Linked DNA regions of Homo sapiens: all the other regions are linked to region 1. Evidence: promoter capture Hi-C in human tissues and cell types (Jung and others, 2019). All regions are on one chromosome and are shown on one strand. Each heading gives the region's core, a stretch centred on a gene start or on the middle of the fragment in contact. The rest is flanking DNA. Distances are from core to core; before and after follow the strand shown.

Region 1 (4,748 bases), core at 2,014-4,513:
CAGGGGAGAAAGGGTGGCCCTGTTCCATCTTCCCTGGAGCTTAGAGGGAATGCCCCTCCAGGGGCTTCACTCTGCACACTCCTGTGCCTCCATGGGGGCACACTGGGGGGGCCCAACTACCACTCTGGAGAGGAGGTTCCCACAGCCCTTTTCTCATTGTTTCCTTTTCCATCCCAAATTTCTGATCAGGATTTCACTGATACCATTTCCACCAGTGGCAGATACTGGGGCCTCTCACCCCTCCCCACCCCCATGGCCAACACACACCCCTCTTCCTTGTTGGCAGAGCCTCCTGGGGGAGACCACACCCTCCTCAGCCCAGAGAGTGGCCTGGGATTTCATGGCAACTCACTGCAGTGACCCTTTTAGGGATGAGTGCATGACCCAAGCCTGGCTGAGGGGTCTGCAAGGGCATCCACTAGGAGGTTATGGAGAGGGCAGAGGGCTGTCCCTGATCCAAGGGACACAGGGTGAGACACCCTCTTCTCTGCTGGACATCATCTTGTCCACCAATGGGCTCAAGTGGGCATGACTGTGGCCTGACAAGGATGCTGAATAGAGACAAACGTATTGTGGTCCCTGATGCCATGCTGCGCCCTTGCCCTGTTCCTACGACGCACCTGCCACACGTGCTGTTTTGTTGTATCACAAATGCCCATTGTATTTTTTTTTTATTTTTGAGACGGAGTCTCGCCCTGTCGCCCAGGCCGGAGTGCAATGGCGTGATCTCAGCTCTCTGCAACCTCTGCCTCCCGGGTTCAAGTGATTCTCCTGCCTCAGCCTCCCAAGTAGCTGAGATTAGAGGCGCCCGTCATCACACCCAGCTAATTTTTGTATTTTTAGTAGAGATGGGGTTTCACCATGTTGGTCAGGCTGGTCTCAAACTCCTGACCTCGTGATCCACCCACCTCCGCCTCCCAAAGTGCTGGGATTACCGGCATGAGCCACCACACCTGGCCACAAATGCCCATTACTTAAGGTGCTTTTAGAAGGATCCGCATGGGGACAGAATGTTCTCTGTTCTCCATGAGGTCGAGCCCACATTCTAGGGTCTGCTCCTTTAGCACCCAACTCCTGGCACTGGTATTTCTCTTCTGGTTCTTCTTGGTGATTATAACCTAAAAGTAGGCTCATTAAAGGACAAAGGGAAGGCCTTGGAGCCTCTGGAGAACCAGAAAGGCAGGCCTGGGGCTTTGGCATCGAGGACCACCGCCACCACCTCGCTCCCAACAGATCCAGCCAAGATGCCACGGCTGTGTGAGCATCTGCTCGTGGGGACAGGCTGCACCGTAGGCCCCACCAGGATGGGACCTGGGCAGTCCCTGCTTCTTACTCCAAGTCTGATTGGCAGAGCCCAGATCCTTGACCTACATTAAGCTGCAGGGGCCCTGGGAAGCCAGCACTGCACTGTGAGCCACTACAGCGGGAAGGGGCAGCCCGACACTGGCCACAGCCACAGTTCCCACGTGTGGAAAAACTGAGGTGGATTGCCGGTGAGGAAGGCTAACGGTGCAAGTGCTCCTGCCCTAGATGCCCAGAGCCGGGGGCAGACAGTGGCACCCCTGCTCCACCCTGGGCAAGCAGCACTGACAATCTCTACATTCTTCCCAGATGACCTCAGGCAACTGAGATGAAGCTAAGCAGGGACCAGTGTGAGCAAAGCCGCTAAATGCATGAGGACAAGGAGGACTAACTGAGGGCCAATCCAGCAGGCAGCGGACAGGGGTTCAGGGACAACTGCAGTGACAGGCACTTCAGGAGGGCCCTCGCTGCTATGTTCACATTACCTGTCCCAGAAATGCCCGGGCCAGGGGGACTGCCGGCTGGTCGAAGAACTCCAACCCCAGTCGGGTAAGGTGGCCCTTTGGGCTTGAGAAATAGATGCTGCGGTATGGGCCCGGAGTGGTGGGCGGTCCCAAGCAGCGCTCCCTGGGGCAAGGTGCCTGGGCTGCATCGGACGAGCTGTGTGGCTGCTCTGCAGGTGCCTGGGCTGCGTCGGACGAGCTGTGTGGCTGCCCTGCTCTAGCTGGTCGCTGCTTCTTTTGCCCCATCCGTCGGCAAAACTGTAATGGGAAAAAAAATAAATAAGCATCCGAATAGGAGACAGCTGTGTGGTAAGGTCAGGCTCAGGAAGTGCAAGGACTGGATCTGACCACCTGCTTTGGTTTCTTCATCTGCAAAGCGGGGGTGACCATCCTGTGGGTTGTTATGAGGCACAAACACCCTGACACACTCGAGGCCTCAGGAAATGATCACGTCTGACGATGGACGGCTGCTGCTGGGGGCAGGGTGGCTGCTCTGCCCCACATATGTGCGAGCTGCACGGCATGGGGGCCCAGGCTGCATGACCTGGGGAGCAGATGGGGGCCTGAGCCTGGGACAGCAGGGCTGGTGCCCTCCGATTCCCACTCATCATGCAGGTCCCAAGCAAACGTCTGAGCTGGTTTCTGGAGCCCTGCCCTTTCATCCAACCCTTGCCAGAATTCAAAACACAGGATCTTAGCAGGGCCAAGGTCGGACACACAGGGAGGGGTGAGCACCGGGGTGACCACCGCGTGCTCAGGGTCCCTAACTGTCCTCTGCTTCATGGCCCAGGCTGGATAACGAGCAAGTGGGGCAAAGGCAAGGTCTCCTGAGGGACTAGGAGGGTCTGCTGAGACCGAGCAGGCCGCCAGCCTCCCACCTCTGGCCTCCCCATGGGTAGGGGGAACCTAACCACACATCCTCGGCTGTCCTGGGGCAAAGGAGAAGGGAAGATGAAGGTGGCGGGTGAGCGCCGGCCTGGCAGCACCCGGAGGGCTGGTCTTTAGCAGCACCTAAGTCCTCCTGGCATGGGAGAGATGCATTATTTTTAACGGGAGTGCTGACGTTAATGTAGAACGGAGACTGCCAGTCGGCCTGGAACGGACGCTGACGTGACCGTCTCCGCAGCTCGGCCCGCGCTGCCAGCGCGCCGTGGGTTCAGCCCCCGGGCGCTGCGGCCACTGCTCTCGGCCCGAGCTTGGCCCTTGGCCTATGCTCTGGCTCTGCCCCGAACCCTCGGGGCGGTGGGCGCTACGCCCGTCCCCGGCACTCCCGCTCCCGCGGCCGCGCTCGCTGCTGCGCCTGGGGGTGGGCGCGTCTGTTCCGCGGGGCGGCCGAGGCGCGCGCTCACCTGGGCCCCGCTGCGCGCGGGCATCCGGCGGCTCGGGCCGGGGCTTCGTGGGACTCGGACCCCGGCGCGGAGCCCAGCAGCCGCCGACCACGGAAGCACCCCTAGGACCGGGGCGGAGCGGCGCCTGCGCAGAAGGGGACGGAAGCCGGGAGAAGGGGGGCAGTGAGCGCCGGGAACTGGCTGCGCCCCCGGGGCGGGGCGGGCCACGTGGAGGTGGATCCTCTTCCCAGCGCCCACCGCCAGGTCCGGACCGATTCCCGGGCCCGATGCGGTGCCTGCGAGGCGAGAGCGGGGAAGGGGCACCTGGGGGTGGGGCGAGCCCCGCACTGTGCCCCGGCGCCCCTCCCAATGAGCTGTCCGCCCCCGCCTGCGCCCTGGTCGCCTGGCGGCCCCAGAGCCCACTCCACCAGCCGGTGGTCAGACCACCGAGAGGACGGGCCCGTCGTGAACCTGAGTGGATCCTCGAGGGGCCCGGGCGGAGTGGTCGTGCTTTGGGGGAGGGGGCGGGCCGCAGACGTGTTTTCCGGTGGGGTGCCAGCGGAGTGAGCGCCTGGGAGGCCGCCCCAGCCCTGGTCCGGAGTGGGCCGGGGAGTCCTTATCCAGGAAGTGGACGCCAGGCTTGTGCGGAGGCCCCCGCCCCTGGCCGGGGTTGTCACAGGCTGGTCGGGGGAAGGAAGGAGGGAGCGGCGCGGATTCTGCCTCTGCAGCAGAGCCCCCATCCCTCTTTCCGCCCAGGGATGCTGAAGGGAGCTCGCCCACGTTCTGGGTTGGGCCTGCTGGAGCGCAGGCAGCCTCCTCTAGAGGCCGAGGCCAGACCAGGGCTGAACACGGCCCGGCAGTGCGCAGCCGTCCTACGCTTCTGAGGCCTCCCCGACGGCCCAGCGCCTGTAAGCTCTCACAACCTCTCAAGTCAGATCCATGCCCCTAGGGAGGGGCAGGGACGGTGCTTGGCCCAGTGGACGGAAGGGCCTAGGGGACGGGCCCTGAGGGAGCTGGGCACACTGCTGGCTCCCACGGCCCATGGCAGCCCCAGCACCCAGCAGAGCCATCCCCCGCTTCTGGCCACTTGAAGGTTTATCTGGGTCTGCAGGGCCCCTCCACTGTGGCAGGCACAATCCCACCCCACAACCCACCTCTGCCGCACAAAAACCCTCGAGGGGCTTTTCCTGAGCTTTGACTTCTGTGACCCTGGTCCTGGAAAGGAGCACCTGAAAAGGCCTTGAAGAGCAACTGGGCACCTGGCCGCGTCAGGTGGGAGACGCTGGGCAGGACAGACGCACAGGCCATGTGTCTGGAGCCCTCAGATGAGTGTGACACCTGGTCCTACAGAAAGGCTAACAGGGCAGGACCTGGTCTCCAACTGCCTCTCCTCCTCTGACCAGCCGTCCCACCCCCATGGGCCCCAGCCAGGACTTCCTGGGGAGGGAGGGGCCATCAGCCGGCTGGAAGCCACCAGCTGTTTGTAGCACTGTGTGCCGCTTCCCGGGGTGGGGGCATAATGTGTCATCAATCCGTGTTTATAAAGCAGCCCTGGATGTGATTCCACACCCTCCCTGCTTATCTGCAGCCATGCCTCCCAAACAATGAGTCTCTC
Region 2 (4,748 bases), core at 1,576-4,075, 320 kb before region 1:
TGCAGTGAGCCGAGATCGCACCACTGCACTCCAGCCTGGGCAAAAGAGCAAGACTCCGTCTCAAAAAATATGTATAAATAAAATAAAATAAAAATAAATAAAAAATAAAAGAGCCCTGTTAAAATACACCTCCCATATTGCTATACGGCAATGATTTAAAATGAAAATTCGGCCAGGTGCCTTGGCTCACACCTCTAATCACAGCACTTTAGGAGGCCAAGGCGGGCGGATCACCTGAGGTCGGGAGTTCGAGACCAGCCTGACCAACATGGAGAAACCCCGTCTCTACTAAAAATATAAAAAATTAGCCGGGTGTGGTGGTGCATGCCTGTAATCCCAGCTACTTGGGAGGCTGAGGCAGGAGAATCACTTGAACCCAGGAGGCGGAGGTTGTGGTGAGCCAAAATTGCGCCATTGCACTCCAGCCTGGGCAACAAGAGCGAAACATGGTCTTAAAAAATAAATAAATAAATAAAATGAAAATTCATAAAATTATAGTATTTTATTTAATTTATTTATTTATTTTTTATTTTTTTTGAGATGGAGTCTCGCTCTGTCGCCCAGGCTGGAGTGCAGTGGCATGATCTAGGCTCACTGCAAACTCCTCCTCCCAGGTTCACACCATTCTCCTGCCTCAGCCTCCAGAGTAGCTGGGACTACAGGCACCTGCCACCACGCCCAGCTAATTTTTTGTATTTTTAGTAGAGATGAGGTTTCACCGTGTTAGCCAGGATGGTCTCGATCTCCTGACCTTGTGATCCACCCACCTCGGCCTCCCAAAGTGCTGGGATTACAGGCATGAGCCACCACACCGGGCCTATTTATTTATTTTGAGACAGGTTCTTGCTACGTCATCCAGGTTGGAGTGCAGTGGCACCATCACGGCTCACTGCCGCCTTGACCTCTTGGGCTAGAAGGATCCTCCTGCTTCAGCCTCCCCAGTAGCTGGGACTACAGGTGCATGCCAGAGTGCCCAGCTAATTTTTCATCTAGTTTTTCTAGAGAGGGGTATCGTTTTGTTGCTCAGGCTGGTCCTGAACTTGTGCTGACACAAACTTGCAAAGTGCAGTGGGGGAAAGGGTATTTCTGTGTCTTTTGACAGAAATGGACAGAAGTAGATACAAGAGAGAAAAATACCCTGGCTTAAACAAGATAGAGGTTATAATTTCCTCTCTCCTAAGCCCTGCATGGCACTAATATCAAATATGATACCTGAGATTCAGCAAGCTACGTCGGGATAATATGGCTTTTTTATTTATTAGAGATTTTCTTGTACGCATTAAATGTGTACTGATCGGTATGACTGGCACAAACTGTACCAGATGGATGGCAAACTTTTGCTGATCTCCAAGTTGCCTTTCCTATTCTTAATTATTAAAGATTAATTTTGGGCCAGGTGCAGCGTCTCACTCCTGTCATCCCAGCACTTTGGGAGGCCGAGGCAGGTGGATCATCTGAGGTCAGGAGTTCCAGACCAGCCTGACCAACATGGTGACACTCACCTCTACTAGAAATACAATTAGCCCAGCGTGGTATTGTGTGCCTATAGTCCCACTTGGGCGCACTGAGGCTGAAGCAGGAGAATTGGGAGGCTGAGGCAGGAGAATTGCTTCAACCCAGAATGAGACTCCGTTTCGAAAAAAAACTTTTTTTTTTTCCTGCAGAACACTCAGAGAGAATTGTCAATACCTGTCCTTGGAGAACATAATTTAAAACTTGTTTTCTTTTTTTGAGATGGAGTTTCACTCTTGTTGCCCAGTGCAATGGTGCGATCTCGGCTCACTGCAACCTCCACCTCCCGAGTTCAAGTGATTCTCCTGCCTCAGCCTCCCAAGTAGTTGGGATTACAGGTGTGCGCCACCACACCCGGCTAATTTTTTGTATTTTTAGCAGAGACGGGGTTTCACCATGTTGGCCAGGCTGGTCTCGAACTCCTGACCTCTGGTGATCTACCCGCTTCGGCCTCCCAAAGAGCTGGGATTACAGGCGTGAGCCACTGCTCCTGGCAAAAGATCAAAATTTTAATAGAAACTTGAAAATGTTGCCAATTGAAAAAAAGAAAAGGAAAAAAAAAAAAGGATCCGCCCATTAGCCGAGTGAGGGCAGGTGACCGGGGAGGATCGACCTTTGCCCGGGCTGCCTTCTCTTGTGAACACCAAGGCGTTTGCAGGAAAATGAAGAGCTGCTGGGCAAAACCTGGCATTCCTGGGCCTTCTGGGTCTTCCGGAAAAATGATTTCAACCTAAAATTTTCTGTTAAGAAAGAGGCCAGGTTGGGCCGGGCGCGGTGGCTCACGCCTGTAAATCCCAGCACTTTGGGAAGCCGAGGCGGGTGGATCACCTGAGGTCAGGAGTTCGAAAAGAGCCTGACCAACACGGTGACACCCCCTCTCTACTAAAAATAAAAATTAGCCGGGCTGAGGCAGGAGAATCGCTTGAACCCGGGAGGCAGAGTTTGCAGTGAGCGGAGATCGTGCCACTGCACTCCAGCCTGGGCGACACAGCGAGATTCCGTCTCAAAAAAAAAAAAAGAAAGAAAAAAGAAAGAAAGGAGCCAGGCAAGACAGGTTTCCTAACACGCGAGCCCTCGGGGACCACGTGGGGGCGCCGGCGCCCGCGGACCGGACCCCGCACCAAGGCTGCGCTCGCTTCCCAGGCCCCGCTCACCGCAGCAGGTCCGGGCAGAAGAGGTGGCGGTACGCGGGGAGACAGTCGTCCCCCTCCACGTCGGGCGGCGGCTGGGCCATGGCGCTCCCGTCGGGGACTGCGGGGACAACGGGCGGGAGCGGCCTCGGCCTCCAGGACCCGGCGCGCAGCTGCGAACTCGCCTGGAACCGGGAGCCCCGCCCCACTCCCCGGACGCCCCGCCCCTGCCCTGATTGCTTCCCGGAGGCCCCGCCCCTCCCCCGAATTCTCCCCGGAGGCCCCGCCCCCGCCCGCGGCCTGCTGGGACTGGAAGTCGGCGCGCGAGGCGCAGGCGCATTGCGGGGCCGGGGGCGCGGTTCCCGCGGCAGAAGCTCGGCGGTCTGCGGGTCTCCTCCCCGAGTCTTTTTCACAGGTATTCGGCGTCAGCGCCGCGTTCAGAGCCTCCAGGACTTGTGGGATACCCCTGGCTCCTGGGTCCAGGCCAGGCTCGCAGCCTCTGGGCTCCCCGTTCGCCTCCCCGTAAACACCATGGGGAGGGCCGGGGCCCAGGGAAGCGCGGCCAGCCCCGCGCCGCTTCCCAAAATGACCCGTTTTGAGGCCAATAAAGAAGGGTCCGGGGCCGGGCGCGGTGGCTCACGCCTGTAATCCCAACACTTTGGGAGGCCGAGGCGGGCGGATCACGAGGTCAGGAGTTCGAGACCATCCTGGACAACATGGCGAAACCCCCTCTTTACTAAAAATACAAAAATTAGCCGGGCATTGTGGCGGGTGCCTGTAGTTCCATCTACTCGGGAGGCTGAGGCAGGAGAATCGCTTGAACCCGGGAGGCGGAGGTTGCAGTGAGCCGAGATCGCGCCACTGCACTCTATCCTGGGCGACAGAGCGACACTCCGTTTCAAAAACAAAAACAAAAAAAAAAGGGTCCGTTACTTCTGTTCCGCGTGGGGGCCCGGGCGGGGCTATGCCGCGAACCCAGGACGGGGCGCCCCGCCCGCACCACTGTTGGAAGACGGGGGTCCGCGACGGCCACGGGGGAAAAACACGCAGGGCCGCTCCTGAGCTGAACACACCCGCGGGCCAGCGGCTTCAGGGGCGTGACAGAGCCGCCAGCGCTACAGTAATGGCTGCCAGGCCCTTTCTGCGCTGGTTGGCCTCAGCCCGCCGGCCCCTCTCTGCCCCTTCCCCGGGAAGGCAGCTTCTCCTTTGGCGGGATCACAGCACCGGCTCGCGCCTAGCTTGGGTTCTCCGGATTGCAGGCTGGTGGTCTCTGGACCCCTGCCTGGCTCATACATCCAACAACGTTATGGAACTGGGTGTGCAAAACTTCCTCTTTACTGTTCAACTCCTTACAACTTGCATAAAGGCGTCATTTCTACCTCAGAGCTGGGGGAAGTCATAATTAGTGTACCACCCATGTGCTGGGCACAGTGAATTTTAATGCCTCCCCTTTAGAGGAGAGGTTATGATAATGTGAAGACCCCCCCCCACCACAAAGGTTGTCCGGCACTTTGGTGCAAAAAGGATTGGTCCAATCTTGTGCTGGCTTGGGGTACAGAAAGGCACTGAAGTTGGTGGCTCAAACTCCTCTGGGCTGGGGTGGGGCAGAGGTGAACAGGGAAGTAAGTGGTTTGGGACAGGCAGGTTTGGATGTGGGCTTGGGTTCTTGCTGACGGAGGTAGTTGGTCCTGCGTGGGGGATGGGGTGGTAAGGGCAGCTTGAGCCTCAGGCTGGGTGGATGCTGCTGTGCTGGCCCCCGTCTGCCCAGCTCACCAGCTCACTGCTCTGGAACCACAGCTGGATCTCCCGCTGGGCCCCCTCCACGGAGTCGCTGGCGTGGATGACATTCCTGTGCCAGGACAGGAGCAATGTGAGGCTCAGGCTTCATGTGCACCCTGAGGAATCCCAGGGACCATCTGCTGCTCCCGTTGCCCTCTGTCTAGGGGAGCAAGCCTGTGACTGCAGACAGGGAAGGAGTAACAGTGGAGCTGGGAAACCGGGTTCCAGCCTGGCCTCGGCCTCTTACAGCCTCGTGGACCCGCCCAGGCCCCAGCTTTTGGGAGCCTCATTTCCCCCCAAGTTGCCCCGTGCCAACCCCTTGGGGTG
Region 3 (4,748 bases), core at 934-3,433, 270 kb before region 1:
GGCTGAATGGGCTAGGGGGCTTGCGGGGAGGCCCCAGTGTCCAGCACTGTGGGACCTGGCAGGGTGCCTGCGGCCAGGACCCAGCGGGGCCAGGTGTTGGTCTAACAGTGCAGCTTCGTTCATATCCCCAGCCCCTGCCCACCTGCTCTGAGCACAGTGATGGCCCTGGGAGGTGGGCCTGGGCCCTTGGCAGGCTGGGGACAGCCTAGTGGCCCTTGTCCCATGCTACCCCCTTTCCCACACAGCGATGCTGGCATCAGACACCATGCTGAGTGCTGGCAGGGGCGAGGGCTGGGAGGCTTCCACACATGGTTCCCCATGCAGTCCCACCTGTGGGCATCTGGTTGGGGGTAGGCTGGAAGCTCGGGGAGCCTGGAGCTGGGACTTCTGTGCTTGCCTGGGAGCTCTGAAGGGTGAGGCTGGGCATCCAGGGTGACACAGCCCAGGGAAAGACATGGGGGTGACGTGAGAGGTGCCTGGAGGGAGCTGGCAGGTATGGACATGATGGACACGGAAGCACGGAGGCGGGCAAGTGGCCAGACGCATCTAGGGGAAGGTGTGGGGGAGGCGCCCTTAGGAAGGGCCCTGAAGGGCTGTGGGCAGCAGGGAGCCCTGGGAGGCCTAAAGCAGAGGGCAGATAGATGAGGGCTGTTGTCTCAGGTGTGGGGCGGACGAGGTGGGGAGCCCTCACCCAACAGGAGGCGAGCTGGTCCTGTGTGGCCTGAACTGCAGCTGTCTCCTCTGTGAAACGGGGGTATAGCTGACCCCAGGGGGCTGCCTGGAGCATCCCGGGAGGTGCCAGGCCCAATAGTGCTCTGGGAAGGACAGGGCCCTGGGCTGTTGTGGGAGGCGGCAGATCCTGGTACTCACATCCTCCTCCTTGGGGAGGGCCTGATGGTTGGCTGAGGCCTGGGTGGAGAGCAGAGGGTTGGTTCTGACAGGGTTGGGCTGGCCAGAGCTGGTGCTGGGGCTGCTGCTGGGGGCCCGTGCCTCTCTGCCGTGGGGTGCCTGGGGCTGTGACCTCATGCTCTGTGGCCTGCAGGGCAAGTGACACGGATCTGGGCAGCCAGGGTGGCAGGATCGGACTGGACCCCTTGGCAGGGCCGCTGTGGAGACAGCCCAGGGGAAGGGGTGCAGGGGTCTGGACACTCCAATGGCCTTGCTCTCGGGCTGGCCTGGGCAGCGGAGGGAAGGAGAACCCTTCTCTGATACTAGATGGTGCCTGGGAGAAATCAAGGCAGAGGGTCCTAGCCGGTGGGCTCTTTGGAGGTTGTGGCTCCTGTCCGGGTGAGAGCCACCATATATTGGGGCCTAACGTGTTCCCTGGCGCTGTGAGTCCAGGCTGCCTTGGGACTCAGGAGGGTGGAGCCCACCCCACCTTCCAAGGGCCCTGGCCATCCCTGCCTGCCGACCACCCCACTCCTGGGAGCCTGCTTCCCTCACGGCGGCGGGCAGGCCGTGGCGGTCCCCACGAGGGCCTCCTCTCCAGGGCCGGCTGGGCAGGGAGCCCCGAGGCCTGCAGCCCCCTGACTGCCCTCCGATGTACTGGCGGCAGAAAAGGGCTGCGCCCCACGTGCGCCCTTCGGGGCGCGCAGTCCGCCCAGTGCTCCCCACGGCCGCGGCCATTCCAAGGACCTGCAACGCCGCCTCTCCCACTCCGCTCTCTGGGAAGCCAAAGCCTCCCGGGCTCCGCTTCCGCACCGCCCCTCGGGAAGACGGCGCGACCGCGCCCCCGGCACGCCCCGCCCCCGGCAGGCACTGACCACGCCCTCTCCCGGCCATGCAGAGACCCCGGCCCATGTTTCTCAACTCGTCTTCTCGCTTCCGGCCCCGCCCCGCGCCGGAGGCCCCGCCCCACGCTCTTTACCTCTTCTGCTCGAGGCGGGCCCCGCCTTACTCCCTGGTCCCCGCCCCACGCCCGAGGCCCCGCCCCGAGCTCTTCACCTCGTCTTCTCGCTTCCGGCCCCGCCCACGCCCCGGCCCCGCCCCGCGCTCCTCACCTGTCCCCTCGCTGTCGGCCCCGCCCCACGCTCCTCACTTTATCCTCGCGCTTTCAGCCCCGCCCCGCGCCTGAAGCCCCGCCCCACACCCTTTACCTCGTCCCCGCGCTGCCGGCCCCGCCCCGTGTTGAGGCCCCGCCCCGCGCTCTCACCTCGTCCCCGCGCCCCGGCCCCGCCCCCGCACTTCCGGACGCCGCCGGCGGGGGCGCTCGGGCCTGGGCTTCGGCGCTCTGGCTCGGGCTCTGGCTCGGGAGGCGATCGTGGCCGCTGCCGCCGCCAGAGCCGGCCGGAGTCGGCCCGGAGCCGCGTCCACGCGGAGCGGGCGGGTGGGAGCTGGCGGCTGGGCCCCTGCGGCGCCCCCGCGGCCTGCCCCGCGTCCGCCTCCGGGCCGCCGAGCCGCAGCCGCCGAGATGGGGGCCGCCCCGGGCCGCGCCCCCGCCGGGTCCCGCCCGCCGCGCTGCCGCTGAGCGCATGGGCCCGGACCGCGCCGCGCCGCTCCGGGAGCCGGGCCCGGGGTCCCGCCACCACCGCGCGCGGGTGAGTAGGGCCGGGCTCCGGGGCGGGCTAGGCCGCGGTAGGCCGGGCGGGCGGGACCCGGAAGCGGCGGGGGGCGCGGGTGGCTGACGCGCGTGGGACCGAGGGGGTGGGCGCGCGGGGAGCTGGGGCCGGGGTGTCCCTGGGCAGCGGGACTGGCGGCGCGGTGGCCGCTTGGAGGTCCGAGGCCTCGGGCGCGTCTCGGGGCACGGAGCAGCTGCAGGGGCCGCGCATCGCGTGCGGGGGCCCGGGAGAGCCGGGCCTGGAGCCCTCCCCGCCGCCCAGAAGTCGGCGGGAGTCCGGCTGTCCCGGAGGAGGACACTCCCGCCCGCCCTCGCCGAGGCCGCGTGCCGGGTCCGGGTCGGGGTTCGGCCTGAGTAGCCGCGTGCTCCGGCGTCCGTACCCTCCAGGTTGATGCCTTGCTGCCCAAACACTGGTCTTTCTCTTGGGTGTGGTTCTTAGATTCTACCCCCGCCCCGCACTTTGGAATTTAGCCCCCGTGAAACCAGAGCTGCACTGCCCGAGCAGTGAAACTTTCAGCTTGGCATTGAAGAAAGTAGAGAAAAACATGTCAGTTCTCTGGGGATTTTTCTCAGCCCATCTATAAGATATATATATATATATTTTTTGTAGAGATGGGGTGTCACTATATTGCCCAGCAGGTGTTGAATTCTTGGCCTCAAGCGATCCACCTGCCTCAGCCTTCCAAGGTGTTGGGACTACAGGGGTGACCACCGTCCTCTAAGATAATTTTTTTTTTTTGAGACGGAGTCTCGCACTGTAGCCCAGGCTGGAGTGCAGTGGCGCTATCTTGGCTCACTGCAACCTCCGCCTCCCGGGTTCAAGCAGTTTTCCTGCCTCAGCCGCCTGAGTAGCTGGGATAACAGGCATGCGCCACCACATCCGGCTAATTTTTGTATTTTTAGTAGAGACAGGGTTTCACCATGTTGACCAGGCTGGCCTGGAACTCCTGACCTCAGGTGATCTGCCCACTTTGGCCTACCAAAGTGTTGGGATTACAGGCGTGAGCCACCGCGCCTGGCCCCTTCTAAGATAATTTATAAAGGGTTCTTATGTGCATGTCAGCCCCTTGTTTTTGCTCACACTTCTGTTCTCTGCTTCTTCAGGAAGAATCTCGAGCTTACTTGGATCCACAGGCCCTATTTTGGAGAAAACACAGTCTAAACCGGCTACCCGAGATACTCAGCAATAGCTCGGTTTCAGTTTTTTTTTTTTTTTGAGACAGAGTTTTGCTCTTGTTGCCCAGGCTGGAGTCCAATGGCGTGATCTCCGCTCACCGCATCCTCCGCCTCCCAGGTTCAAGCGATTCTCCTGCCTCAGCCTTCCCAAGTAGCTGGGATTATAGGCATGCGCCACCAAGCCTGACTAATTTTGTATTTTTAGTAGAGATGGGGTTTCTGTATGTGGGTCAGGATGGTCTTGAACTCCCGACCTCAGGTGATCCGCCCACCTCGGCCTCCCAAAGTGCTGGGATTACAGGCGTGAGCCACCTCACCTGGCTTTGGTTTCAGTTTTAAGATCTCCATTCAGGGACAAGGATGGGAAAGCATGAAAAACAGACTGTTTTTGTTTGATTTTCAGCTGGTGTTGACTTGTCTTGGGTTTCTAGTTTCAGAAAAGCTAAGCAGACTTTTTCGGATTACATTGGTCATTGAGAATTTCAGTGATGGGGGAATAAATTACATGTGAAATAGTAGCCCTGAACCTTCAAGAGTTAAATCAATGGACAGCTGGGAAGATGTCAGAGTCGTGTTGTGTTACTTGCCTCCTCCATGTAAATCAAAATGTCAAAAGTTACGTTTGGGTAAAATAAATACCTACACACGTAGGTAGCATTGAGTTTGCTGCCATGATGCCTGGAGCATATGCCTAAGCGGTGACGAAAGGGAATTTTAAATACAGTATCATACTTGTAGGCATCCCGCCCGTTTTATGGACTCACTTTATTGATGGTAGCTACAGGCTGTGGGCCAGATTCAGTGCTTGCAGGCATTTGATACTGAACTGAGTAAACGTGACTGCTTTATGTGTGGTGTGTACTTGTGTGTACACTAAATGCTTGGTGTGCTTCCCTGTGGGAACCCAGAGATTTCAGGAATTGGGACATGTTTCAACAACATCAGTAGCTTGTAGAGGGGTTCATGTGCTTCCAGGGACACCAAAAAGTCTTCTGTCAGTTGACAGCCAAAAATA

What was found. Contacts are between HindIII fragments. The study calls those that stand out against the background at their distance.
Region 2: a contact is called between the fragment with the promoter of DECR2 here and the fragment with the promoter of MPG in region 1, in 1 of the 25 tissues and cell types used here (spleen).
Region 3: a contact is called between the fragment with the promoter of AXIN1 here and the fragment with the promoter of MPG in region 1, in 6 of the 25 tissues and cell types used here (H1 embryonic stem cells, bladder, dorsolateral prefrontal cortex and 3 more).

What each region holds. Positions count from the first base shown.
Region 1 is chr16:76,740-81,487 of GRCh38, reverse strand. MPG (N-methylpurine DNA glycosylase) reads right to left here and starts at 3,263. Exons shown (of 4, transcript NM_001015052.3): 1 at 3,155-3,263; 2 at 1,788-2,063. The coding sequence starts at 3,178. RefSeq lists an enhancer at 3,184-3,478 and a silencer at 2,993-3,682. The HindIII fragment of the contact is 15,400 bases long and covers 1-4,748 here.
Region 2 is chr16:399,962-404,709 of GRCh38, reverse strand. It overlaps DECR2 (2,4-dienoyl-CoA reductase 2), which reads right to left and starts at 2,825. Exons shown (of 9, transcript NM_020664.4): 1 at 2,667-2,825. The coding sequence starts at 2,746. NME4 (NME/NM23 nucleoside diphosphate kinase 4) reads right to left here. Exons shown (of 5, transcript NM_005009.3): 5 at 3,956-4,491. The coding sequence ends at 4,368. RefSeq lists enhancers at 3,260-3,845, 3,693-4,002. The HindIII fragment of the contact is 11,138 bases long and covers 1-4,058 here.
Region 3 is chr16:350,158-354,905 of GRCh38, reverse strand. It overlaps AXIN1 (axin 1), which reads left to right and starts at 2,183. Exons shown (of 11, transcript NM_003502.4): 1 at 2,183-2,537. RefSeq lists silencers at 1,515-1,774, 1,815-2,294, 2,395-2,474, 2,755-2,804, 2,825-2,894 and 1 more. The HindIII fragment of the contact is 14,202 bases long and covers 1-4,748 here.